3 separate regions of the Homo sapiens genome follow, and all the other regions are linked to region 1. Evidence: promoter capture Hi-C in human tissues and cell types (Jung and others, 2019). All regions are on one chromosome and are shown on one strand. The core of a region is centred on a gene start or on the middle of the fragment in contact, and the rest is flanking DNA. Distances in the headings are between cores, read along the strand shown.

What was found. Contacts are between HindIII fragments. The study calls those that stand out against the background at their distance.
Region 2: a fragment that was not itself captured here is called in contact with the fragment with the promoter of OSR1 in region 1 in 4 of the 25 tissues and cell types used here (H1 embryonic stem cells, IMR-90 fibroblasts, aorta and 1 more).
Region 3: a fragment that was not itself captured here is called in contact with the fragment with the promoter of OSR1 in region 1 in 1 of the 25 tissues and cell types used here (aorta).

Annotation. Positions count from the first base shown.
Region 1 is chr2:19,356,104-19,360,300 of GRCh38, reverse strand. OSR1 (odd-skipped related transcription factor 1) reads left to right here and starts at 1,678. Exons shown (of 3, transcript NM_145260.3): 1 at 1,678-1,960. RefSeq lists enhancers at 1,806-2,334, 3,000-3,964, 3,965-4,197. The HindIII fragment of the contact is 12,145 bases long and covers 1-4,197 here.
Region 2 is chr2:19,124,313-19,128,509 of GRCh38, reverse strand. No RefSeq gene overlaps it. Among named protein-coding and RNA genes, the nearest start is that of LINC01376, 99 kb to the right of the region's middle. The HindIII fragment of the contact is 7,121 bases long and covers 1-4,197 here.
Region 3 is chr2:19,495,703-19,499,899 of GRCh38, reverse strand. All of the region lies in intron 5 of LINC01808 (long intergenic non-protein coding RNA 1808), which reads right to left. Among named protein-coding and RNA genes, the nearest start is that of LINC01808, 29 kb to the right of the region's middle. The HindIII fragment of the contact is 4,827 bases long and covers 1-4,197 here.

The sequences.
Region 1 (4,197 bases), core at 429-2,928:
CCCTGTGTAGACTTTCCCTCCAGGCCTTTCCTTGCCCTTGAAGCTTTCTGTTCTGGAATCTCTAGGAAGGAGGTGTGATCTCAGCTCTCTTCTCTTCCAAGGGTTCTTACTCTAGCAAGAATGTCACTACATCCTAGCAACTGCTAAGATTCCAGGAGCATGGACAAACTTATGTGAATCTCTTACTTCTGCACTAACCTGAGGCACTGGGTAAAAGCTGTTCGTTGGAGCAAAGATTGCACCCCCTCTTACTCCTCCTCAAACAAGACGAAGTTACCCAGGGGTTAGAGGCTAGATTCTGTTCTAAAGGCCTGGGGATATAAGGAAATCCTCTTTCAACTATGCCTTTGAGGGAGGGGAGTCTTCATTACCATCTCCCTAGGTCAGGTATTACAACCTTCTTCACCTCCCAAGAAAATCAGATTAGCTTTGCAAACCAAAGCTGGAGATAGCAGAAGCTCCTCGGGAGAGAAGCAGTACAGTACTTAGGGACCCACGGAATCTAGGATCCAGCTCCAAGAGTCACTCAGCAGCAACTCTGGGGCAAAGGCAGAGAGTGCAGTTGTGTGATCTGGACCCACACAAGTCCCAGGAAACCAGTGACTCCTCCTTGCCAAACCCAAGGCCTGGAAGGGTATTCCAGAAAGGCATTAGGGAGGGATTGGGCTGGGGTCAGCCGGAGGTCAGCTTTCAGAGATGGGTAGTCAAGGGGGTGATGGTACCCTCCATAATGCCTAGGCAATGAAGATAGAATTTTTAATGTCCAGAACTCTGATTCCTTTCCGATTAAAAACTCCACCTGAACCAGCTCCTTGACTCAGAGGCCCTGGAACTGACAACTTTGCAGCTCGTCTAGCTTGCCAGTGCGGCTCTCTAAACTCTGATCCATCCTAAAACAAATATGTAAGTAGAGAGTGCCACTGTGCATTGGGGTGAAATCTCAGAGAGTTCTGGGCCCCAGGAAAATAACTTTCCTGACCTCCTTTCCCTACTCTTTGTTCTTTCTACTGGACTCCAGAACTTAGGGTCTGGGGTCAACCATAAGCACTCAGATGTTACAGCTCGCTTGCTTCGGTGACCCTGGCCCTCCCGCACCAGGAATTAACCAGCGCTGCCTGGGTTAACACCCTGGCCCCGAGCACGCTTGGATAGCCAGGAGCTGCTCCACACTCGGGGTCTGCCGCCTCTGGAAAGAGATTCTGGGAGGAGATGCGACTCTGTCAGGCGCCAAAGTGCGTTGAAACCCAAGCCGCGGTGTGGGGATCCCGGTGCACAGAGCTACTGCCCCTCCCTCCCTCCTCCCAAAGAGCACGGGCTGTGTCCTAGGAGCCCAAGTATAGGACCTCGAAACGTGCGGTGCCAGCCCGCTCTCATCTGCTAGGGACCGTTTCCTCCAGTGCGCCAGGCGTGCCGCTCTGGACCTAAAAAGGCAGCAGGGGTCGCGCGGGACTGAAGAGGAGGGGACGCAGGTTGGGAGAGGCCGGGTCCAAGCGAGAGCAGCTGCCAAAGTCTGCTGCCCGGGTCAGCAAAAACTTTGTCTTTCATTGCGCAGGCGCAGGGCAGGGTTGGGGGGCAGGGGAGGGAGGGGAGGAATCCTGAGGCAAGGGGCGGGGGTGGGGGTGGTGGAGGAGGGAGGGTGGTGGATTAAAATAAGTAGGCGGCTCGGTGCTAAGGGATGAGTGAGTCGGAGCTCGGCCTCTCCCCGGCACGTTCTCAGCTGCTCCTGGTTCAGACCCAGCGAGGGAGCCGCGAGCGAGGCTCACCGTCCCCGGCGTGCAGGATCCGGGGCTGCTGAGCGCTCGCTCCCGCGTGTCCGGCGCTTGGAGTCCCCGCGGCAGGAGAGGAGTCGGGACACTAGAGCTCCAGGGGCGCCTGTGGGCTCCAGGGCCTCCGGCTTCCCCAGTCCCCTTCAGCTAAAGCCCCAGAGACGTGCTCAGCCCCAGGACCTCTGCGGAACAAGGTAATTGCAGTCCTGGGCGCCTGGGCTCAGCAAAGCGAATGCGGGCAGGACTCCCAGGTTCCTTGTCACTGCTCGGCGGGTGCCTCCTCTCTCTCAATGCCCCTGAAGGAAGCTCTTGCCAAACGAATGCTGTAGGACTTTTGTGAAAGTGAGAGCAGGGTGGTTGGGGGTGCTGCCTCAGGACTTCCTGCGCGGGGTCCTCGGCCTCTGACCGCTGGGGATTAAGGGGGGCGGGCCTCCGCTACTGCGGCCAGCCCGCCCGGCTCTGCGGAATCACGGGCGAGGTGCCCACGGACTTTGAAAGTCAATCTGTGGGCCCCCTTTAAGAAACCAGAGCAACTTCAGCGGGCACAAACTTTCCTGAGACGCGCTCCTAGCTCTGGCTGACGCCCAGGTTGACGAAGAAGGAAGGGAGAGGGAGTGAATGGCCACAGCCGCAGCCGACCGCGCCAGGGACAGGTGCATGCCCCAGCTCGGTAGCGCTTTCGTTCAAGTTTGTCTTTTGAGGAGTTGCGCTCTAGTATGAGGCCGCCTAGACCCGAGAGCGCAGGGCTGCGAGTCTGAACCCCGCCTTGCACTCGCGCTCTAACTTAGGGATATTCTCCATAGGATGATTGCTCTGTGTCGTCAAGGCCTGGAGCGGAACCCTTGATTGTCCTGGTGCAGGGAGGCAATGCAGTGGGCGCAAGCACTGCTTTCCAATTCGAGACCCACACACAGCACTAGTGGAAACTCTGTGGAGCCCTAGGGTCTCCGGGCTGGGGACAGGAAAAGTTCTGTTACTCCCCTGACTGTCCGCTAATCCAGCCGTCAGGAGAGAAAGAAGGGGGAAAGGGGTGAAGGGCTGCCTGCTGAACTAATTTCTCCTCGGAAATGTCTCGGAGAAGAATGAAAAACCACGTTTAGTCCTTTTTCAGCAGCTCAGGCAGTAGCGGGTTGGGTTCTCAATGTGTAAAGTAGCCGCAAGGGTTTCTTTGTTGCCACAATTTGGTAAATTTCACCCAGGCTAAGAGCTGCGCATTGGCTCTGCGGAACAAAACCACGTGCAAGGCTAGGTGTCCCAGGTTCACAACCCCCTAGGGAAGAGAAGCGCTGGAGGGGACTAGCAGCGACCGGCGGCGTGTAGATGTTCCATCCCAGGCTCCTCGAGGTAATTGCTGTTTTATTAAGATTGGGGAATGGATCACCGAGGACGCAGCGGACATTTAAGTGCAGCCGGATGACCGCCTTGCCAATGGGTTCGTTAGATCTCGTTTGTTGGGAGAATGCTATAGAAGTATCCGGTGCCGGTCAGTCCTCTTCACGGGGGTCCGGACGCCTGTCACCACTCGTTGGAGATTCGATGTCAAGGCTGATTTTCTTGGGTTGCTGCTGGGCTCCCCCAGGCGCAAACTCGTGGAGTTCGCTCCCGTTCTCATTAATGCAAGCAGTTAACTTGCTCACGCTCAATTAGCCCCGAATAAACCACTTTAATAGACTCTGCACACTTCATTAATGCCCAGCATAGGACTGGCCGCAGACCTGGGATTGGCGCTCCACCGCGCGAGGGACGCGAGTGCCCGCACTGCGCAGGGACTCGGGATCCCGAGCGCGAATTGCGTCTGCTGTGCGTGGTCGGGTCCCCTTATTCTTTCCCGCAGGTCCTGAGGCCCAAGCTGTTTGAGGAATGGGTGCCTAGCCTGGGGAAGGGTTTTCCATCCTGTGTTTAAAGATCGAAAGTATTCGCCCTGGGGTTCCGCGGTCTGGGAAACCGGAGCCGGAGGAGCCGGGGGCTCACTCATCCTTTCTGGCTGGAGAGGCTAGGGTGAGACTGTGTTTTTCTCTTAACCGACCTCCTGAAACCGGATCGTGCTTTCGGCCCATTCTTGATACTAGTGTAAAGAGCCACGTTTCGAATGAATTTCGTCCTGGGGAAAGTCGTTGGCGGGAGCCTGGGGAGCACTGGCTTCCGAATGCTTCAGAAAACAAGGAACGGGCTGGGCCGCGGAAGAAAATAAATGTAGTGTTGGGGAAAACAAGATCGGGCAGATAGCCCGGAAAGGTTGGCTCCCAGGAACCATTATAGCTGCAAGCACTCCCCCTTCCCGGCACCCCCTACGGAGCCCAAGACGGCTCCGGTCTTGGCTCTAAGGAAGAAGGCGAGGAAAGGCCTAGCGAGGTTGGTGGTTTCTCCCACCCAGGCACGGAGCGGGTTCGGGACAGTGTGCAGGCCAGAGTCCCACAGCCACGGCCGCTGG
Region 2 (4,197 bases), core at 882-3,381, 230 kb after region 1:
CGTGGCCCTGGTTCTTGGTATAGAACCCACAGCCATCACCTTAGCTGGGTGGCCAATCCCTCCCCTCCACCTGAGCAAGGCAGCTCAGAGTGTCAGTCTGCTCCAGAATCGACCTGCTCCACCATCAAGGGATTGGGTCCTCCTGTCCTGCAGAAGATACAATGACTGTCACCTGTTGGTTATCGGCCAGTTTAAAGCAACAGGTGTCTTCCAATGTGTAGATGTTTAATGAATAAATATTAATTTTACTCTTTTCACATGGGTTGATCTGCCCTAGAATAATCTTGGGTTGCCTAATTCTTCCTACCTCAAAGGTTGATTGTTCAGATGAATTAAACTGTGAATATGAAAGTTTTGGGTAACCTCAGAGAACTACCAATTTGAGGAGATTGGTTATTAGTGTAGATACTCATGGAAATGCTGTGGCAAACTTAAAATCTGTGCTGACTTTGAAAGTGACACCATATGAAGTTATTTATAAGACATAGGGGGGTTTGTGTTTCAGGCCAGGTTTTGCTAAAGCAGTGAGCTGGGAGTAGAATGGACTAGGGGTTGAATAACCACCTTAGCCGCAAGGATGACCACCACTCATACAAAAGCAGTCTCCCAGGAGTGGCCTCCTTTTCAGCCTTACTCAATTAACAGCACTGTGCTGGGGCACTTGGCAAAGCACGGGGTCACTGGAGGGCTCCCTGGGAAGCACAGGTCCTGTGGGAAGTGAGCCAGGTCCTCACACCTGCCTCTTTCTCTGCCAGCACTCCTCTCTGTCTCCTTATAGACTTCTTCGCATTTCTTTTCAGAGTGTTCTATTTACACAGACACCATCCAAACTCATCATGCAAATCTTTGCACTCACTTAATCCAATGCCCAGCACATTTGAAGATGTAATAAATATCTAGACTAATCTTACTGAACTATCATTGTCAACATGGTTATCATCATCATTAGAATTTATTTAATCTTTACAACATTCTTTTCAGTTCCTTAATTAGGATAAATCCAAAGTTCATCTCATACATATAACTGGTAAATATGTTATTTACAGTTTGTCTTACATGACAGAGTCTATATTAACTGAACAATTTGATATCAGAGAATTCTCTCAGCATGGTGAAAATATTCCTTTTGTTGCTGCTATAAGTTTTGTTGAGATATCCTGAAATAAGGTAACAGGTATCTGGGCAGCTTTGTTCAGACAATGTTGCCTTGACCAGGCTGTTTTCTGTTGGGGGATGATCTACTGTCCAAGTGTGTGTATCTGGTCTTTCAAACTGTGTGGTGACCTCTTTAAGAGTATAAATCTTATCTCCTATTTCTGTACTCTTTTCCAGTATCTAACAAAAGACTTCACACTTAGTAAGTGTTCAGAAAAAACTCTGCAATAAATGAGGGAGCCTGAGAGCAGATGGGGTTTGGGTTGGACCAGCATTGTCTTCTGTTGAGCATAAAGACTGGTAATTCTGTAGGCCTCTCTACAGTCATACGTATCCATAAAACCCCATTTCTCCATACATGAAAACACACTCGACACAGCTGATGTGCATGCATCTCTCTACACACTCACACCTGTGCAGGCATGTGTATCCTAGTATCCCAGTATGCTCCGTTTCTGACATTCACTTCCTCTGCACTCAAAACAAGTCCCTACCCTGCCCACCACAAAGCCAGGCTCACAGCCAGGCACACTTTGTACACAGACACACGCCAACACAAACACATGCAAACTTATAAAGAGGCCAGCACTCGTGCACACACATGCTACACACATGCACACCTGCATATACTTCAGGTGTGTTTGAAGCTGAGACTGAAAGTTGGGAAGCACCCTGAATCCCTGCCTGTGTGGCAGTCACAACGTTATAAAATATGTCACACTAAAAAAAATTCTCTTTAGCCCCTGAGGATTGCAGGTTGACTTTAATGTTTTCAAGGACCCCGAATACTGACTCTTCTCTAACTTTGCTCAGGGCTAGTTCCTGAACAATACATAAATTGTATTGGAATTAACGAGAAGAATACACTGTGTTCTCTAAGTGCCTTTCGGAGTAGTGTCTCAAATGCTCAAGACAATATTACTATTGTCTCCAAAGCTCAAGCCTGTTGTTTTATCTTTGAGGAAGTTTATTCCTAGATAGAGATCTTCATAACACCAGCTGGATATGGAGACATCGACAGGCTGGGTAGCATTGTTGCCGCCTTATAAGAGCACCATTTTAAGAGCACCATTTAAAAACCAATGACTTTTCTCCTTAGCAATACAGCACTTGCCCTGCTCAGATCTGCCTTTCTGGGAAACCTCAGGCTTTAGGAATTGGCCCAGTTACTGGCAGGATCCACAGAGTTGTAAAGACCAATGGGAAGGGAAAGAGTTTAAACTTTAACTTCTTCAGACATCATGGTACCATCACGAAAATGAATCAGAAACACCCACTGAGAACATTTTTCACAGTCACTGTGCAGATGACAGAAGATAAGGAATGTTAGCAAAGGTGGAAAGTTCTGTACTGATAGCATCTTAGACCTGTGCGAATGGAGACAGTACTTCTCGGAAGTTTGCTGGGGAGTTCACATCACTTGTTTTCTTCTGACTTGCAGACTCAGAAAGAAAAACCTATTCCTAAATCACTCTTAAGAGAAATATTCTCCCCTCCCTCCTCCTAGTTTTGGAATGCTAAGCCTAAAGGGCCTCAACTTAATTCCTTTCTCTCTCTCTCTCTCTTTCACTCTCTCTCTCTTTAACAGGAGAAGAAAAACCAAGAACACAAAAAGAGAGGGGCTTATTCACAGTGACCTTATAATATAGGGGCCAAATTAAAACTTGAGCTCAAAGTCCCAGACTCTCATTTTAGGTTTTATTTTTATTTTTTCCTAATCAGGCAATGTTATTTTCCACTACTCATTTAATTCTCCCCCTTTACCAATGGGAATTAGCCATCTTTTCAGTGAAAATGGTTGTTGACTTGGCTTAATTTTGTGCTACAAGCTTTTAATTTACTATCACATTTACTGTAACGATTTGAATAGGGTTTTGATGAAATCTTAAGTGAATTTGGTGGGGGAGCAGTTAAAAATGAATTCGATTGGGATATTTAAAAAGTTTTTTTTTTTTTTTTCATTCTAGAGACCTGGGGGATTTTAGAACAGGGCTTTCAAGGTAATGAAGGAAGAGAATCTTCTTTGGACTTCTTTTTGCTCCAGATGCGGAGAAGGCAACTTCCCGGAGTCTCTACCAGTGAGAAGGCTACAGAATCATGGGCGTAAGTATGCATGGCTGGGCATATCCTGGGGTTTGCTGTCTTGTACCAAAGACCGGAAATCAAAGGCCACTTGAATTGTTAAGACACATCTGGCATGGAGTCATGTTGCTGTCTCCAGACTTGACCTGCCAGACTCTAGTCTCTGGGTAACACTTTTCTACCCACTGGCAGAGCTGAACAGGTTTTTGGAGGCCATCAGATCCAACCCATTTTGTAGGTGGAACAATTTAGGGCCATAGAAAGTGTGGTATTCAGAATAATCCCTTCACCTCCTCTACAAAGTTGTGCATGTCCTAATCCCCAGAGTCTGTGAATATAGCCAAAGAGAATTTGCAGGTGCAATTAAGTTAAGGATCTCGAGATGGGGAGATAACCCTGGATTATCTGGGGGGTCCAATGTAATCACAAGAGTCCTCATAAGTGGAAGAGGGAGGCAGGTGAATGAGAGTCAGAGAAGGAGAAGTAACTGCAGAAAGAAAGGTCAGAGGGTTTCGATTGCTGAGTGAAGATCACCAGCCAAGGAAATGAATTCTCCACTAGAACCTCCAGAAGGAATGCAGCCCAGCTGGCACTTTGATGGTATCCCCGTGAGACCCCTGTCAGACTTCTGATCTCTGGAACTCAAAGATGAATTTGTGTTGCTTTAAGCCACCAAATTTGTGATAGTTTCCTATGGCAGCAATAGAATACTAATACAGGTAGAAACAAGCAAAAGGGACAAGGACCTGCCTTCTTTCTTTTTCCTTTTGCCTGGAAACCATCTCTCCTCATGCCCTTTCTTTGCTTGGCCAACTTCTTTCCTCCTCGAGCCTTAGCTAAGGACGTGTTGTAGCAATGCGTCCCTCAGACTAGATTCAGATAGTTTCTCTGGGTTGTGCTTTTTCTATGAAGTTACTCACCACTGTGGACTGTACTGACTTGCACGTTCATCTCTCCCAG
Region 3 (4,197 bases), core at 827-3,326, 140 kb before region 1:
ACTGAATTGATAAAAAAAGAAAGAAAATAATAGCCTCAAAACTGTACCAGGGGTCATCTGCTTCTGGTTAAGGTGAAATAACAGACTAGATTTACCATTCCACTTGAAACAACTAAAAAATAAAAATTACATAAATAGATGAAATAATGATTTTTAAGAAATTGGAAATCAGATAATGAAGGGCAATAATCTCTGAGATATAATAAACAAATGATGTGAGCCTTATAAGTAGCCACAGTGCAGGGAGAGGCGACCCAGGCAGTACCCATTGGTCTCCCTGAGTTGAAGAGACAGAGCTGAGATGCCAAGGCTGCTAGAGTTCACAGAGTAGAATACCAAAGAAGGGAGAACCTGATGAAGAGATAATGCAGAGATTTGCAGAGGGTCCTTCTTGAATATGCAGCAGAGTACTGAGTCTGTTCCCCCTCAGCAAAACTGGAAAAACCTCTTAACTCACAGGGGATTGACTAGAACTCTCAAAAAATTCTTGTCTCAGTTGTGGGAATTAATAGCCTGAAGCTAGATCCAGCTCTCGTCCCACCTAATGAGTCTCAAAAGCAAGGTCTGAAAGAATCATGAGGCCGACAAATAAACTAATTTTGTTTCAGAACAATAATCAAGAATGTTTATAGAAATATGATAATATCCATCACCTAACGAAGCAAAATGCACTGTGTGGCATCTAATGAAAATGTACCAGGCATGCAACAACAACAACAACAAACTAGGAAAATAGAACTCATAACGAGGAGAAACATAAATCAATTGAAATGGACCCAGACTGACACAGACCTTAGAATTACCAGCAAAAGACATAAAATAAATTATTATAACTGCATCTATACTCAATAGGCATGCAAATTATAAAATGAAGATCCAAATCAGCCTTTCAGAAGTTAAAATTATAATGGCTATGGCAAAAATACACTGTATTAAGCTAACTGCAGATTAGATGTTACAGAAGACTAGATAGTGAACATGAAGACATAACAACAGAAATGATCCAAAATTAAATAGAAAAAAAAGGCTAAAAGTAAAATGAAGTATCAGTGAGTTGTAGGAAAACTCCAAAGAAGTGAGCATCTGTGTAATTGGAGCTATGAAGTAGAAAGGAGACAGAAGTATTTGAAGCAATCATGGCTGAATACTTCCCAAATGTAATAGAAACTCTAAAGCCATTTATTTAAGATTTCAATAAACCCCAAGCTTGAGAAATATTATAATAGCATAGTTCAAAAGCAGTGATTAAGAAAAAAAATCTTAAAAGCAGCCAGAAGACACATAGGAAGAAAGACTAGACAGATTTTTTATCAGAAACTTGTCTTCATCAGCTAGAAGACAGTGGAACAACATAAAGACAAACCAAAACAAAACCCCAAACTACCTGTTAACCTAGACTTATATATCTAGTAAAAATATCTTTAAAAAATAACCCCCCCAAAAAAAGACTTTTTCAAATATGCAAAACCTGAAACACTTAATCACAGTGGACCTGCACTACAAGACACATTTGACAAAATTCTTCAGACCTAAGATAAATGGTACTAGATAGAAAGGGAAGTCTACACAAAAGAATGAATAGCCCATAAAATGGTAACCACATAAGATTTTTTCCTATTATCTAAATCTCTTTAAATAATTCTTGACTGCTTAAAAATAATAACAACATAGTGTGATGTTTATAATAGGTATAAAAGTAAAATGTATGACAATAGCACAAAGGCCAAGAAGGAAGAAATGGAAGTAAACTATTATAAAGTCCTCTTACTATACATGAAATGGTATAATATCTCTTGAAGGTAGAGTGTAATAAGTTAATATGTATGCTTTGAACCCTCAAGCAACCACTGAAATGAAAAAGACAAAAAAGTTATAGCTAATAAGCTAACGAAGGAAATATAATTGAATAATTTACAAAATTCAAAAACTAGAAACAACCAAATGTCCATAACTAGGTTAATGGATAAGCAAATTGTGTTATATCTATTAATGGAATAATTCTCAGCAATAAAGAAGGAATCACTGAAACATAAGACAACATAGATGAATCAGAAAATAATTCCACTGAGTAGCTAAATATTGAGAATACATTGAAATATCCATTTATTAAGAGGTTTGGGTCCTGTTACTCTTCTTTCAACGTCCTTCACACTATATATAGGGAAACACAAGCCAGGATGCAAACATCCCAGGGTTGTAAAACAATCTTTGATAATGGTCTTTTGGGGAGTGGTGAGGTTCTGCGTTTTGTGTTCTAATCTTACATTTGCCATTAACTAGTTTTGGGGCAATGGGAAAGTCATTTTCCTTATTGGCTTTGCTTCTGCATTTGTATTAATAACATAAGGGGATTATAAGAGGTTTAAGGCCCCATCAGCTATGAGTCACTAAACCACAACAGGTCTTGTAAATCCAGACACAGAACTGAACTATAGAACGGTTGGGACCCCAAATCAGGTGTTTTCATGTCACACACTTCACTTGATTTTTTCGTGTAGTTGATTGCACACTTATTTTGTTTCTCTTACCAGCCAAGTGTTTCTGAGAGTCAGGGCAGCTCTGCTCTTCCCTTCCTCACCCAGCTCTGTGCTTCGATGATGATCCGGTCTAAGGTAACATTGGCTGACTTGACTAACTCATGAAAAATAGGGGTAATAGAAGCACTGAGTGTCTCCTCTGCAATTGTGCTGCAGTGTTGTGCAGTTTGAGATGACTAGAATAGGAATCAGGAGACTTGGGCTTTAGTCTGAGTTACCTAGTCTCAGTTTCCTCATCCATAAAATAACTCCTGGTGTATTCATTGCAGTGAGTGGTTGTTAGAATCAGATAGGATGATGGATGTGAAGGCATTTTGTAAAATGTAAATCATTCTGCAGAATTAAGGGAAGACTATTATTTCTAAATGTGAATTTGCAAAGAAACACCAGCTGAAGTAGCTAAGACTTTAACATGGGGCTGCTCTTGAGCTAACTCAAAGTGGGTGCCAGAGGCGACTTTGGCTTTGCTTTTTATGTAACCAAAGGGAATGATTCATTAGCTGCTGTTACGAGGCCTATATATGTAGCACCACCTGGGTGTGTGGTCAACAGTGCCAAAGTTATTTGGTCACCGGAATTTGTGGGAAATACCTGGAGGACATCACTTGTACTTGGTGGGTGGTGATAGAAAACTTCCTTCTGAAGGACGAGATTAGGTCTGATGCTGATATCTTTTAGAAACCCCGTTGAAAGTGAATGAGTGAAAGTTAGAGCATGCCTTCCCCAGGTCCTGGAGAAGAATGTCTTACAGCCTGCAATACAGGCAGAGTTGGGTCCATTCTACTCCCAAGGTGCCCCATTCAGGTCTGGATTTGCAACATTATGCTGTGATTGTCTTCTGCTTTTGCTCTACCCAATTAACCATAAATTCTTTAACATCAGGGACTGAGTTTTAGGCATTTAATTTTCAGCCTTTGAGACCTATGAGTGTTGAGTAGGTGCTCAAAAAACCTTTGGTGACCCCAAACGAAAACCAATGGATAAGATATAAGACTAGGTTCTTCATCTTGCAAAGCTTGTGTTCTGATGGCAAAGGCAGATATATGACCAGATATTTATTGAGTGATGTGCTATGTGTGAGAACAGAAGCTTCAGAGAAGACTTTTTGGCAATAGGAGATGATACTTGAGTGGCATTTTAAAGGATGAGAAGGCTGAGCCAGGGGAAGAACGGAAGGAAACATGGTTCAGGAGGTTCCTGTAATATCACACTCTTAATGTGCTTAAATATTGCAAGATATTTTTGCATCAATTTTCTTAATTTTCACAGTAATTTACATGTGAGTAGGATAATCCTTAGTGCCACATTCATAGATCAGGAAACCAAAATCCAGATAGGTTAAAGGACTTGAATAGGTCACACGGCATGTTGGGGGAGTGTGTAAATTAGAATTCTCTTAACTTTTACTTCTCTGTCATTCATCCCAGAACACATGGCTTTATGTATTAGTTCATGGACTTTCACTCTCCATTAGAGCTACTCTTTTGAGTTTATTGGAAGCAGTTTCCAGAGATAATTATAAACTGGGCAAAAAATAAACTGCTTATCAGAGTTTGGAATGGGGAGATTTATTTGGTAGCTTATACTTTACTTACAAACAAAAGAAATTCATTGCTTACAATGTAGAGCCCAAGCACAGTAAAGACAAAAGAGTCCAGTT